3 separate regions of the Homo sapiens genome follow, and all the other regions are linked to region 2. Evidence: promoter capture Hi-C in human tissues and cell types (Jung and others, 2019). All regions are on one chromosome and are shown on one strand. The core of a region is centred on a gene start or on the middle of the fragment in contact, and the rest is flanking DNA. Distances in the headings are between cores, read along the strand shown. Region 1 overlaps ST6GALNAC2 (ST6 N-acetylgalactosaminide alpha-2,6-sialyltransferase 2). Region 2 holds the start of FOXJ1 (forkhead box J1). Region 3 overlaps UBE2O (ubiquitin conjugating enzyme E2 O).

Region 1 (3,632 bases), core at 784-3,283, 430 kb after region 2:
CCTCCCGCCCCTCCCCAGCTCCTACCCCTCATACCTGAATACATAGTCATGGGCATCGATGTTGGGACCCTGGCGGGACCCATTCAGAATGCCTCCGTTGCCCACCACGGCACACCGGATACACTTTGGAGGGGTGTCCCTGGGCGGGGCAAACAGCTTGGCACTCTCTGAGCCGTTCAGAAGGCTCAGGGTGGAGGCGATGACTGTGGGTGCAGATGGGGAGCAGCCATGAGGAGGGCTGGCATCGGGGGCACCTGGGGCCTTCCCTAGGCTGGTTCTGGTGCCCCATCTCCCCTGAGGCCTGACCCTAGCCCCTCCCAAGAAGCACAGAGGGTGGGAGGGGAAGGAGATGTCTGTGGGGGGAGAATTGAAAAGCTGACAGTGGAAGAGGGGGCTTGGCGGCCTTCACTTGTCTTAAGAACTTGAATACCTTATCTTCTTAAGACTGGTGCTAGAGAAGTGAGCTCAGGGCTTAAAAAAGACTGGGCTGGGCACGGTGGCTCACACCTGTAATACCAGAACTTTGGAAGGGTGAGGTGGGTGAATCACTTGAGGCCAGGAGTTCGAGACCAGCCTGGGCAACATGGTGAAACCATGTCTCTATTAAAAATACAAAAATTAGCCAGGCGTGGTGGTGCGTGCCTAATCCCAGCTACTTGGGAGGCTGAGGCACAAGAATCACTTGAACCCGGGAGGCGGAGGTTGTAGTGAGCTGAGATTGTGCCATTGCACTCCAGCCTGAGTGACAGAGCGAGACTCCATCTCAAAAATAAAAAAGACTGTATATTGCAAAAGAAAAGAATCGGAGGCCTGTGGGGGTTTGGGTGCAGGTATAATGTAGAGGGGGCTCTGGGCCTGCAGTGTGGGGGTTCCTGCAGCAGCAACCGTGAGTGAGGTGGTTTGAGGCCCCACAGCCTCTGTCCTTGGCCACCATTGGACGCTGCAGCCTTTCTTGCCAGGGAGGCCCCAGGATGGTGAGGCCCACTGGCGGGGGCAGCCCCATGACTCTCACTGACCCCTGGGTGCTTGGACGGAGGAGGGAGGTGAGGCAGGAGTTGCATAGCTGGGGCTTCTGGGAGGAGAGAGGGGGACAGGGAGACCTGGCATCACCAGTGCTATGAGGGCAGAGAGGCCTGGCCTACTTCAGGGCAAAGAGCAGGAAGCTAAGGCAGAAGGCAGGTGAGAGACAGCGGGCGCGGGTTACCTTGGTGAGAGAGCCCCCGCCAGCCATACGGGGCTTTGTGTTGGCTCAGGCGGTCCCAGAGCGCTGGGGTGAAGAGGTCCCCCCACAGCAGCACTGGAATGGAGAGATTGAACAGGCCACGGAAGTGGGGGTGCCGCTGAATGGCCAGGTGAAGCAGGTGTCGGCAGGCCTGGCCCTGTGGGTGAGAAGGTGAGGGCTGAGCCCCGTTAGGTAGGGGCTGGGGTGGGTGGGGCCCTGCAGACCCTGCAGGGGAGTTGCGAGTTGTGAGGGAAGGCCTGCCCTGTCCCCTCCAGATTGGGGCCATCCTTGCATTTTTTTTTTTCTTTTTTTGAGACAGAGTCTCGCTCTGTCGCCCAGGCTGGAGTGCAGTGGCCCCATCTCGGCTCACTGCAAGCTCCGTCTCCCGGGTTCACGCCATTCTCCTGCCTCAGCCTGCCGAGTAGCTGGGTCTACAGGCGCCCGCCACCACGCCCGGCTAATTTTTTGTATTTTTAGTAGAGACGGGGTTTCACCATGTTAGCCAGGGTGGTCTTGATCTCCTGACCTCGTGATCCACCCGCCTCGGCCTCCCAAAGTGCTGGGATTACAGGCGTGAGCCACCGCGCCTGGCCCATCCTTGCATTTTTGAACTGAGCTGGCAGCTAGGGGGTCTGGGAACTTTCTGGATTTAGCCTGCCTAGCTCTTCCTCTCCCAGAGGCCATGTCCCCTTGGCCTGGTGGTTCTGGCCTCACACTCCTTCATCTCACGCTTGAGCAAACTCTGGGGCATTTTCTGATGTATGGGTCTGACCTGCCTGCCCTTTGGTGGAGTAGTTTCAGCCTGGGCTGAGCTGAGGCTGTCACCCTGGATGCAAAACCCTAACCCTACTGGTACTCGCTGTATAATTTGTGTGTGAACAGGCTGCCAGGAAGATCCGTGATAGTCTTTCTTTCCAGTGGTGCCTTTAGGGAGTGGAAGTGTCCCCCCAAAATTCATTACCCAGAGCCTTGGAATGTGACCTTAGTTGGAACTAGGGTCTTTGGAGATGGAATTAGTTAGGAGGAGGTCATATAGGGTGAGGTCAGGCCCTAACTAGCATCCGTGGAAAGAGGCCGGGTGATGATGAAGCAGGGATCTGTGCGATGCACCATAAGCCAAAGAGCAGTGGAGCCGCCAGAGCTGGGAAAAGGCAGGGGAGGCTTTCTTCGAGCCTTCGGAGGGAGCGTGGCCCTGCCAGCACCTTGATTCTGGGCTTCTGGGCTCCAGAACTGTGACGATTCAATTTCTGTGGATCGAAGCCCCCCAGGCTGTGATCATTTGTTCCAGCAGCCACGGGGAAGGAACACAGCACCTCTGTACTTGTGGGCCTTGAGGGAGGGTGAGGTCAGGAAACAGGCCCCAGCCTTGTCTGCCCGTGACCCCACAAGTTCAGAATCACACACAGTCATGGCCTGGGTGGGCCTTCTATTACTCCTGAATGGGGCTCTTTGTTAAGCCATTCGTTTGATCAAAAGACAAAGCAGGAAATAGCTGTACAGTAATTTCTGCTATAATGCAACTTATGAGTGGCTAAATATCACCATGCTATGCAAAGCTATGCAATCATGATCATGGGGTAGCTGGGCATGGGGGCTCACCCCTCTAATGCCAGCGCTTTGGGAGGTCAAGGCGGGAGGATAACTTGAGGCCAGGAGTTTCCAGATTAGCTTGGTCAACATAACAAGACCCCATGTCTGCAAAAAAATGTTTTTTCATTAGCCAGGCATGGTGGCCCAGACCTATGGTCCCAGCTACTTGGGAAGCTGAGGTGGGAGGATTGCTTGAACCTGGGAGATTGAGGCTGCAGTGAGCTACTGAGACTGCACTGCAGCCTGGGCAACAGAGTGAGACCCCATCTCAAAAACAAAACAAAACAACAATAGCAAAACGAAAAACCACGGGCCTATGAGAACATGGGATGAGTGACATAACACTGAAACGCTGTCAGGAATGCGTAAAACCAAAGATACAAATCGAAGAAAGACAGAAGCACAGTTTTACTGATGTCCCGTGGTTAAAGAATACTTGAGATTGATGTGGAAGTGGGTGTGGAAGTGGGTGTCGGAAGGGGGCAGTTTGTGTGATATTGTGAAATGGTGGAAAGAAGTTGTCTGAAATCGGAGGGAATTGTGCCACCAGACTCACTAGGGCAGGTGAACCCATAACACACTCGGTGAAGCTGATGGAGATTTCAGGTGTGCATGTGTGTACTTTTTGTGTATTCCTACATGGCTCTGCTGAGTTGGGTGTGGTTTCTATGTTAACCTAGAGTTTTCACTGACAAAACCACTCAAAAAAAAATCCAGGCCGGGCACGGTGGCTCATGCCTATAATCCCAGCACTTTGGGAAGCAGAGGTGGGTGGATCACCTAAGTTCAGGGGTTTGAGACCAGCCTGAGCAACGTGGTG
Region 2 (3,835 bases), core at 874-3,373:
CTGGGATGTTTACATGGTGGCCTGGGCCCCTTGGCTGCTCAGTGCCTGGTTCCAGAGACGTGGAACACGAAGTGAGTGTGGTAGGCAGAGCCCCAGTGGAAGGCACCTGGCTCAGGTAATTGTCCCCCCAGGGAGGTTGGCTGACAGCGGGGGTTGGAGGCAGGAAACTGAGCAGAGGTTGAGGTGGGGGGCTGGGACAGCAGCTTTAGGAAGGCCCCTTACCCCCTCCACCCTCCATTGGGACACACCTGGCCCTCACATGCTAAGGCACCCCTTCCATTCCACCCTCCCCAAGCCAACTGCAAAAGGGCAGGACGTAGAGCCTGGCAGGGAGGCCACGTTCCAGTTTCCGTTTCTGACTCCCGGCCCCGACAAACCATCCCGGGGCAGGGCAGTGTCTAGGAATTCTAGGACTTGGGACAAGAATGCGCCTTCAGTTCATCGCTCTCCCCAAGGAGATTCTGTCCACGCAGAGTCTAGCCCTGGTCTTTGGCCTGGGCCTGCTGGATGAATGGCAGGTTATTTCCCCTTGAATCTCAGCCTCTGCACCCCTAAAGCCCTCCACCTCTGGACATTCTCCCTTCTCTCTCTCTCTCTCTCTGGAAGTCAAAGGAGGGGCAGTTGCAAGAACTGGGCTCCTTTGCAGGGCTCCCTTCTGGGGCGCTGGCCGCACCGCAGAGCCTACTTGGCCTGCAGATTTGGGATATGAATCCAGTGCAGCGTGGGGAGCGAGGAGGGAATGGGGAGGGAGCGGCCGCCGCCCGTGCCTCCTCTACCTGCCAGGTGGGATCTGCGTGGCGGAAGTAGCAGAAGTTGTCCGTGATCCACTTGTAGATGGCCGACAGGGTGATCTTGGTGGCCTTGCTGGCCTGCATGGCCATGCAGATGAGCGTGGCATACGAGTAGGGAGGCTTCACGTGCGGATTGGTGGCGTAGTCCACGTCGTCGGGGGGTGGGGCCTGCAGCCCCGGGGGCGCGCTCCGCGACGTGCACGACGACGTGGGCTTGCCCGGCGTGTGTGGCTGCCCCAGGCAGGCGGGGTCGGCCGCCAGGGGGGACCCGGGCGCCGCTGAACCTGGCACCTGGTGGTAGCCGTGGGGGTCGGTGCCCCCCGGGGGCAGGGCGGGGGCCTTGGCGTTGAGAATGGAGAATTCCTGCAGCCACTGCAGGCTGGTCAGGCTGTCATCCAGGGCGTCGGGCTCCTCCAGGCCGCCCTCCGGCCCGGCCTCCTCCGCCGGCCCGGCTCCCGAGAGGCGCAGCCAGCTCTCCGCCATGTCTGCGGGGACTCTCCGAGGGGGCGGTCAGCATCCACGGGCTGAGCCGGGGGTGGCCCGCCGCGCTCTCTGGCCCGCTGAGTCCCGCAGCTCCCGTTACACGGCCTCCCGGACGCGCGCTTCCATCTCGCGACCCCGGGGGCGCCTCCTCCGAATAAGTATGTGGTGCCTGCGAGGACCACGGTGGGAGCTGAGCACTACCCCACCCCCGAGGGGACAGTGTGTGTACGGGGACGCCCTCTCTAACATCATCCCCGCAGCTGGGGAGGATCTTTTAGTGCCGAGGTATGGGAAACAGAAGCAAGGCCCTGGGGTCCCACCCCCATCAGATCTGCCTCCCTCTTCCTTTCCTCTTCGAGGTTTTATTAGCCAAATGAAGAGGGTAGGGGCATCCGAGGCTATCCTTTTCTCCCGAAGAGCAGGAAATCAGGACCCCCTTCCTCCTCGCAACAAATGGAAGTGGGGCGAGAAGTTTGGGAGGGCGGTACGACGGGGCGGGGGCGGTGGAGGTCCTCTGATCCTTGAAAAGGAATATTATGATAGGGGATCATTGGGAAGGAAGGGGACGGAACAGTAACGGGGGGCAGGAGGCGAGTTTCCCCCAGACTTCTCCGATGTCAGTCCCTGGGCCCACCACTTCCGTTAAGGACGAATGAGAGAGCGGGTTGGTACCGTTGCCCACCCTTCCCCCTGGCCTGCAGCCCTCCCCATCCCTTACCTGGCTCAGAGCGCAGCCCGGGCCAGAGGAAGGTTCTGGAAGAAGTTGCTCCCACCCCCTGCGGCTCTCTGCCCCCAGCTCGGGGGCCCTGCCAGCGCCTCTTGCCGCCCCCCCGCCCGACGGCGCTTCTCTGAGCTACCGCGGCCCCGGGACCGGCATTAAGTAGCCGCTCCAAAGGCTTCTCCTGCTGCCATGGCGACGCTCCGCCCCCATAAACAGCTTCCGCCTCTGCCATTGGCCAGCACGTCTCCAAGGAGACCGCGGGCACTTGCCACTCTCCCTGGCGGCAACTCTCTTCGAACTCCCTCCTTCTGCCGCCCTCTCCCGCGCCACCCAACCCCCTACCCGCCGCTAAGTCCCGGCTCGGCTCATTCCCGCCCGAGGGCCCCGCGCTGGGGTCGGAGAAGCGCGCGGCCTGCGGCACCGGGAACCGCTATGGATCCGTTCGTTCTGGGGAACCAAGACTCTCGCCCCCACCCCCTTCCTGTCCCGTACGCTTTGAGGCGTCGACTGCTCCTGGGACGGAGCCTGGGGTTGGGGGGCTAAGGCTGGGAGCGGGCTCAGGCTCGGGAACCGTATCCTTGAGGTTTTCTTTCCTCTCCGCTACGAGTGGCACTTTCTCATGTTTCTGCAGCCTTTCCCTCTCCCCCGACTCTTAGGGTCTTTCTCTGGTGTCCCAGGCAGGTCTGACTTTCCGATGCCACCTGCCGCTTACATCCACAGAGGCGGCAGACACACCAAGGGGGTAGGGTAATCCAGTGTGTCCCAGTAAGCAGCTCCTTCCCCACCCGTATCCTCGAGGTTCCAGGAAGCTGACATTCCAGAGGCTTCTGCAGAAGCGCACTCACTCCTCTGGAGACAGCTGATGAAGCAGAGCCCGTGGGTAAAACTCTGAAGTCATGGACTTGTCAAATTCTCCTAGCGGGGTCATTTGCCCAATTAATTTCACCAACCTTTAAGTCACAGGGATTAAGAGTAGAGGGACTCTGGGGACTGTGTCCCTTCCTCCTCCCTTCCCCTGGCCTCCCTCCTGTCACCAGCTTTCCTGCTCTTTAATTATTGAGGAGCTGCAGGGTTGGACGTTCTCCGGTTTAAGGCGGCTGCAGAGGCAGTGGTGGGGGCTGGGTTGATTACCCCGCCTCTGCCCAGGAGCTGGAGAGCCGGGGTCGGGGAGGCTGGTGCCCAGACCATGAAGAAGGCCCGGCTATGGCGCATCACTCCCCCGCCAACATGCCTTTCCCTAGCCCTTGCCTCTCCCACTCCTCCAACTCCAGATCCTCTTGAGTAAAAGTATTAAAGAGTGCTGGCGAAAGTCAGACAGAAACTTTCACAGATAAGCTCACTTTGCAGTTAGCTCTCCTTCCCTTGTAAACAGTTTTATTCATTTTTAAGAATCATGCAGCAATCCATAAATATTGCATTCTTGATGTCCCCACTGTAGTGTGACCACAAGTGTACTCCAGGGAGAGGGGTACACAGATGGCACAAGCAGTATACACATGCACACACCAGGTGTGCAGACCAAAGCAAAGTGAGCGACCAGCGTGCTAAACTCCAGGTGGGCAGGACCCCAACTCCCAGGTGAGGTGGGCAGGACCCTAACTCCCAGGCCAGCCGGCTTAGAGTGTGGTGGTCTGTGCCCAGGAGATGCCTCAGCGGGGGTAGAAACTCTGGTGGGATGGAGCTGGGCAGAAGGAAAAAAGGGCTCTGTGAGGAAGCCGGGATCACACCACCTGAAGGCAATAGGGAGAGCACAGGCCTAGTGCAGCAGGAAGGAGCCCTGGGTCTCCATAGTTAGGCTGTGCCCTGTGGGAGAAGCCAGGCCCCACCTCTTCTCTTTGGG
Region 3 (3,655 bases), core at 702-3,201, 290 kb after region 2:
TCCTTCTTCCCGAAGTACAGCGAAGGTCTCTTAGTAAATACAACTTTTTTTTTTTTCTGTGAAAATGTCCTTATTTGTTCCCATTATTGAACGATAATTTAAGCTGGTTGCTGAAAACTAAGCCAACAACTGATTTTCCTTAGCACACTGAAGATTTTACTTCCTTATGGCCTCTACTGTTGCTACTTGGCATTTCCTGAGTTTCACTGTTGAACCTGGGGAGTAATCTGCCTTTCTTCTCAAGCTGCCTTTAGGATGCTATTTTTCCCACTGGGCCCTCATACCACCATCCATGTTTGTAATGTCTCTTCCTCACAAGCATCTCTTTTATCTCTGCAGAATTCTAACTAACTTCTGCAGATCTGTTTTCCAGTTCCCATAGTTCTCTCTTGAGAATTTATGCTATTTGCTGTTTAACATTTCCACTGGGGTTTTAACTCAATGTTTTCACTCTAGAGGCTTTATTTGATTCTTTAAAAAATAATCCCTTTTAAGATGTATTCTGTCTTATTCTTTCCTTTGACATCTATTTCTTCTTTTAGCCCTTCAATCACTTTAGACATTTCTATTATAATCTCTTCTATTATTTGAATTCTCATGTTGAGAATCTTGTGTTTGTTGTGATCGCTGACTCATGTTCTAATTTCTACATGCTTGGTAATTTCCTAGAACAAGCTCATCATCTGTGGGCATCCTAGGATTCCAAAAGGCCTGTACTGTGCAAGGGTCACTCTAGAAAAGTTCTGCCTTTGTTCTGCAAGCAAGAAGCTTCAGGGGTATCGCCAGTCTGCTGGCTGGTCTGGTGCCAGCTCGGGCATTCCTGCAACATGTAGATGTTATAAACACAGACTTAGAACTTGGATGTTTTCCACTGTTCACAGAAGACTTCCTCCAACACAATCCAGAGTGTGGGGCAATGATCAGCTCCCTTGACATTTCTCTGATCCCATGGGGGAAATTTTCTTGCATCCCTTTTACCTGGGAATGGCTCTTTTGAGGGGATTTCTGTTTCAACTCCATGCTTCACGTGTTCATGCAAATCCAAACCTCTATTATTGTTAGGGTCGATTTCAGGGTCCAATGAACCCACCTTGCCCCTCCCCAGAGCTGCCTACTCTGCTCTGGCTTTATATTCCTGCTTTGCTTTCGGTTCTCTGTTTTTCTTTCTTATTCTGTTGTTATAGCTTATATAGCATTTTAAGTGATTGTAATGGGAGCGGTTCTAACTTTAGCTCAAGCTACCATGTCACTGAAACAGGAAATCCACCCCATTGTCTTCTGGCTTCCAATGAGGTTGAAAAATCCAATCCATCTTCATTCCCAGTCTTTTGTATGTGACCCGTTTTTGCTCTTCGGAAGCTTTATGCCCAGTGCTCTGGAATCACACAATGTGCCACAGGACATTTTCCATTTACCATTTTTGAAACTTATGACTGTCCATTCTGAAATAATTCTTGTTTCTCTGATACATTATGGTCCTTAATTTTCCCTTTCTCTCTTTATAGACTTCCTAGATGTCAGACGTTTTTAATCTGTTTCCTGGGAGCCTTCGTCAACTTCAAAGAAAAAGTAATGGTTTTAATTTCCGAGAACTCTTTCTTGTTCTGATTTTTATAGTAACTTTTTATTTCATGGATAAAATATTGGCTCTTCTTTCTGAGTATATTTGCCATGTGCTTTAAGGCTTTCTCCTACCTGAATCAGCTCTGATTCCTCGGAGATACATTTTTCTCTTTGCTTTCTCTGGCCTCTACCTTCCATACTGGAAGCTTTCTGAACATATCCAGTTATTCTTGGCATCCATTCCTATTTAAAAGTGAGGCAATAAGAGATCTTTGTGGTGATGGAAGAGTTGTGTATCTTGACTGCTGTTACATGTGGTTACATGAATCCACAGATGTGATAAAGGGTGTGAAACTGTATGCACATATTGTGTACCCATGTCAATTCCCTGATTTTCATATTGTCTGTGATTATATAAGACATGACCATCAAGGGAAACTGCATGAAGGGTAGAGGGGACCCCTCTACTATTTTTTTTTTTTTTTTTGAGATGGAGTCTTGCTCTGTCGCCCAGGCTGGAGTGCAGTGGCATGATCTTGGTTCACTGCAACCTCTGCCTCCTGGGTTCAAGCAATTCTCCTGCCTCAGCCTCCCGAGTAGCTGGGATTACGGGCGCATGCCACCATGCCCGGCTAATTTTTGTATTTTTAGTAGAGACGGGGTTTAACCATGTTGGCCAGGCTGGTCTCGAACTCCTGACCTCGTGATCTGCCCGCCTCGGCCTCCCAAAGTGCTGGGATTACAGGCATGAGCCACCGCGTCCAGCCAGCCCTCTACTATGTTTGCAACTTCCTATGCATCTATAATTATTTCAAAATAAAAAGTTGGGCTGGGGATGGTGGCTCATGCCTGTGATCCCAGCACTTTGTGAGGCTGAGGTGGGCAGATCACTTGAGCTCAGGAGTTTGAAACCTGCCTAGGCAACATGGCAAAACCCCATCTTGACAAAAAACACACAAATTAGCCAGGAGTGGTGGCGCATGGCTGTAATCCCAGCTACTTGGGAGGCTGAGGTGGGAGAAGTGCTTCAGCCTGGGAGGCAGAGGTTGCAGTGAGCCAAGATTACACCACTGTACTCCAGCCTGGGTGACAGAGTGAGACTCTGTCTCAAAAAAAAAAAAAAAAAAAAAAAGTTAAAAAAGTTGAGGTGATAAAAAGATGATAGAAACCCTGTGAACATAAGCAAGGCTCTGGACAGGTGAGGACCACATTAGATGGAGTAGAAAGCTGGCCACTGCTGTGAGGAGCCACTACATACTGGCAATGGCAGGTCTTGTTGCTGACATGCTCATTTTTTCCAGACTGGAATCCAATGCCATGCCTCATGCCTGGCCTCAGCACTCCAGGAGCAGGCAGGGGCATGGCTGGGATTTGCTCTTTTAGTGTGCAGACGTTCATGAATCCCTCTTTCAGTCCAGCGTTACCCTGCCCCTTGCTCTGCCCAAGGTACCTCAATCTGGTGCATAAGCCTCTGCTCTCTCACTCGCCAGCAAAGGGGATTGAGTATTTTCTGGTTTGCAGAATTCAAAGAGATGACTTGGGAAGTTTCATCCCTCCCTATACAGACTGTCAACTAATCATAATCCCTCTGCTTTTAGGCCCAAACCTTATTCCCACCTTGAGTGCCACCAATTGCCTCCAATTCCTGATGCTTTCTAAAGTGCTTTTCCTTGGTGTTTTTCCGCAGGTACCAACATTTCAGCCTCTGCTCTGCTCAGTCTTCTGTTTGCCTTCCACCTTCTAGAAATTGGAGATCTTTTGTTATTGTTTTCTCTCCCATTCTGTGTCCTTGTGGGTTTATACATCTAAAAACAATTATTTTGCTGTTATTTTAGCAGAGTTTCTAGGGGAAGTAGATTTAAATGAATATGTTCAATCTACCATGTTTACCTAAAGTATGCTAACCGAAGATTTTTTTTTTCAATTTGAGAGCAGGTACTATTTATTAACTGACCAGATTAGAAAAATAATCACGGTAGACACCGCAGTTCATTCTTCTAAGAAGCCTGTGGATCTGGCCCTCCCTGTTGGCAGCAGCTCCATTTTCTACAAAATGGGTGGTCTTTTTCTTCATTCCACTTTGTGGAGAGGA

The links. Contacts are between HindIII fragments. The study calls those that stand out against the background at their distance.
Region 1: a contact is called between a fragment that was not itself captured here and the fragment with the promoter of FOXJ1 in region 2, in 1 of the 25 tissues and cell types used here (dorsolateral prefrontal cortex).
Region 3: a contact is called between a fragment that was not itself captured here and the fragment with the promoter of FOXJ1 in region 2, in 2 of the 25 tissues and cell types used here (dorsolateral prefrontal cortex and heart right ventricle).

Annotation. Positions count from the first base shown.
Region 1 is chr17:76,573,161-76,576,792 of GRCh38, forward strand. ST6GALNAC2 (ST6 N-acetylgalactosaminide alpha-2,6-sialyltransferase 2) reads right to left here. Exons shown (of 9, transcript NM_006456.3): 3 at 1,205-1,379; 4 at 35-203. Among named protein-coding and RNA genes, the nearest start is that of ST6GALNAC2, 11 kb to the right of the region's middle. The HindIII fragment of the contact is 6,838 bases long and covers 1-3,632 here.
Region 2 is chr17:76,139,122-76,142,956 of GRCh38, forward strand. FOXJ1 (forkhead box J1) reads right to left here and starts at 2,124. Exons shown (of 3, transcript NM_001454.4): 1 at 1,993-2,124; 2 at 777-1,443. The coding sequence starts at 1,274. RNF157 (ring finger protein 157) reads right to left here. Exons shown (of 19, transcript NM_052916.3): 19 at 3,353-3,835. It overlaps RNF157-AS1 (RNF157 antisense RNA 1), which reads left to right and starts at 1,435. Exons shown (of 8, transcript NR_040017.1): 1 at 1,435-1,559. RefSeq lists an enhancer at 1-550 and silencers at 962-1,151, 1,212-1,281, 1,960-2,119. The HindIII fragment of the contact is 16,722 bases long and covers 1-3,835 here.
Region 3 is chr17:76,426,870-76,430,524 of GRCh38, forward strand. The region is part of intron 1 of UBE2O (ubiquitin conjugating enzyme E2 O); the gene reads right to left. It also overlaps the pseudogene RPL7P49. Among named protein-coding and RNA genes, the nearest start is that of UBE2O, 24 kb to the right of the region's middle. The HindIII fragment of the contact is 3,437 bases long and covers 234-3,655 here.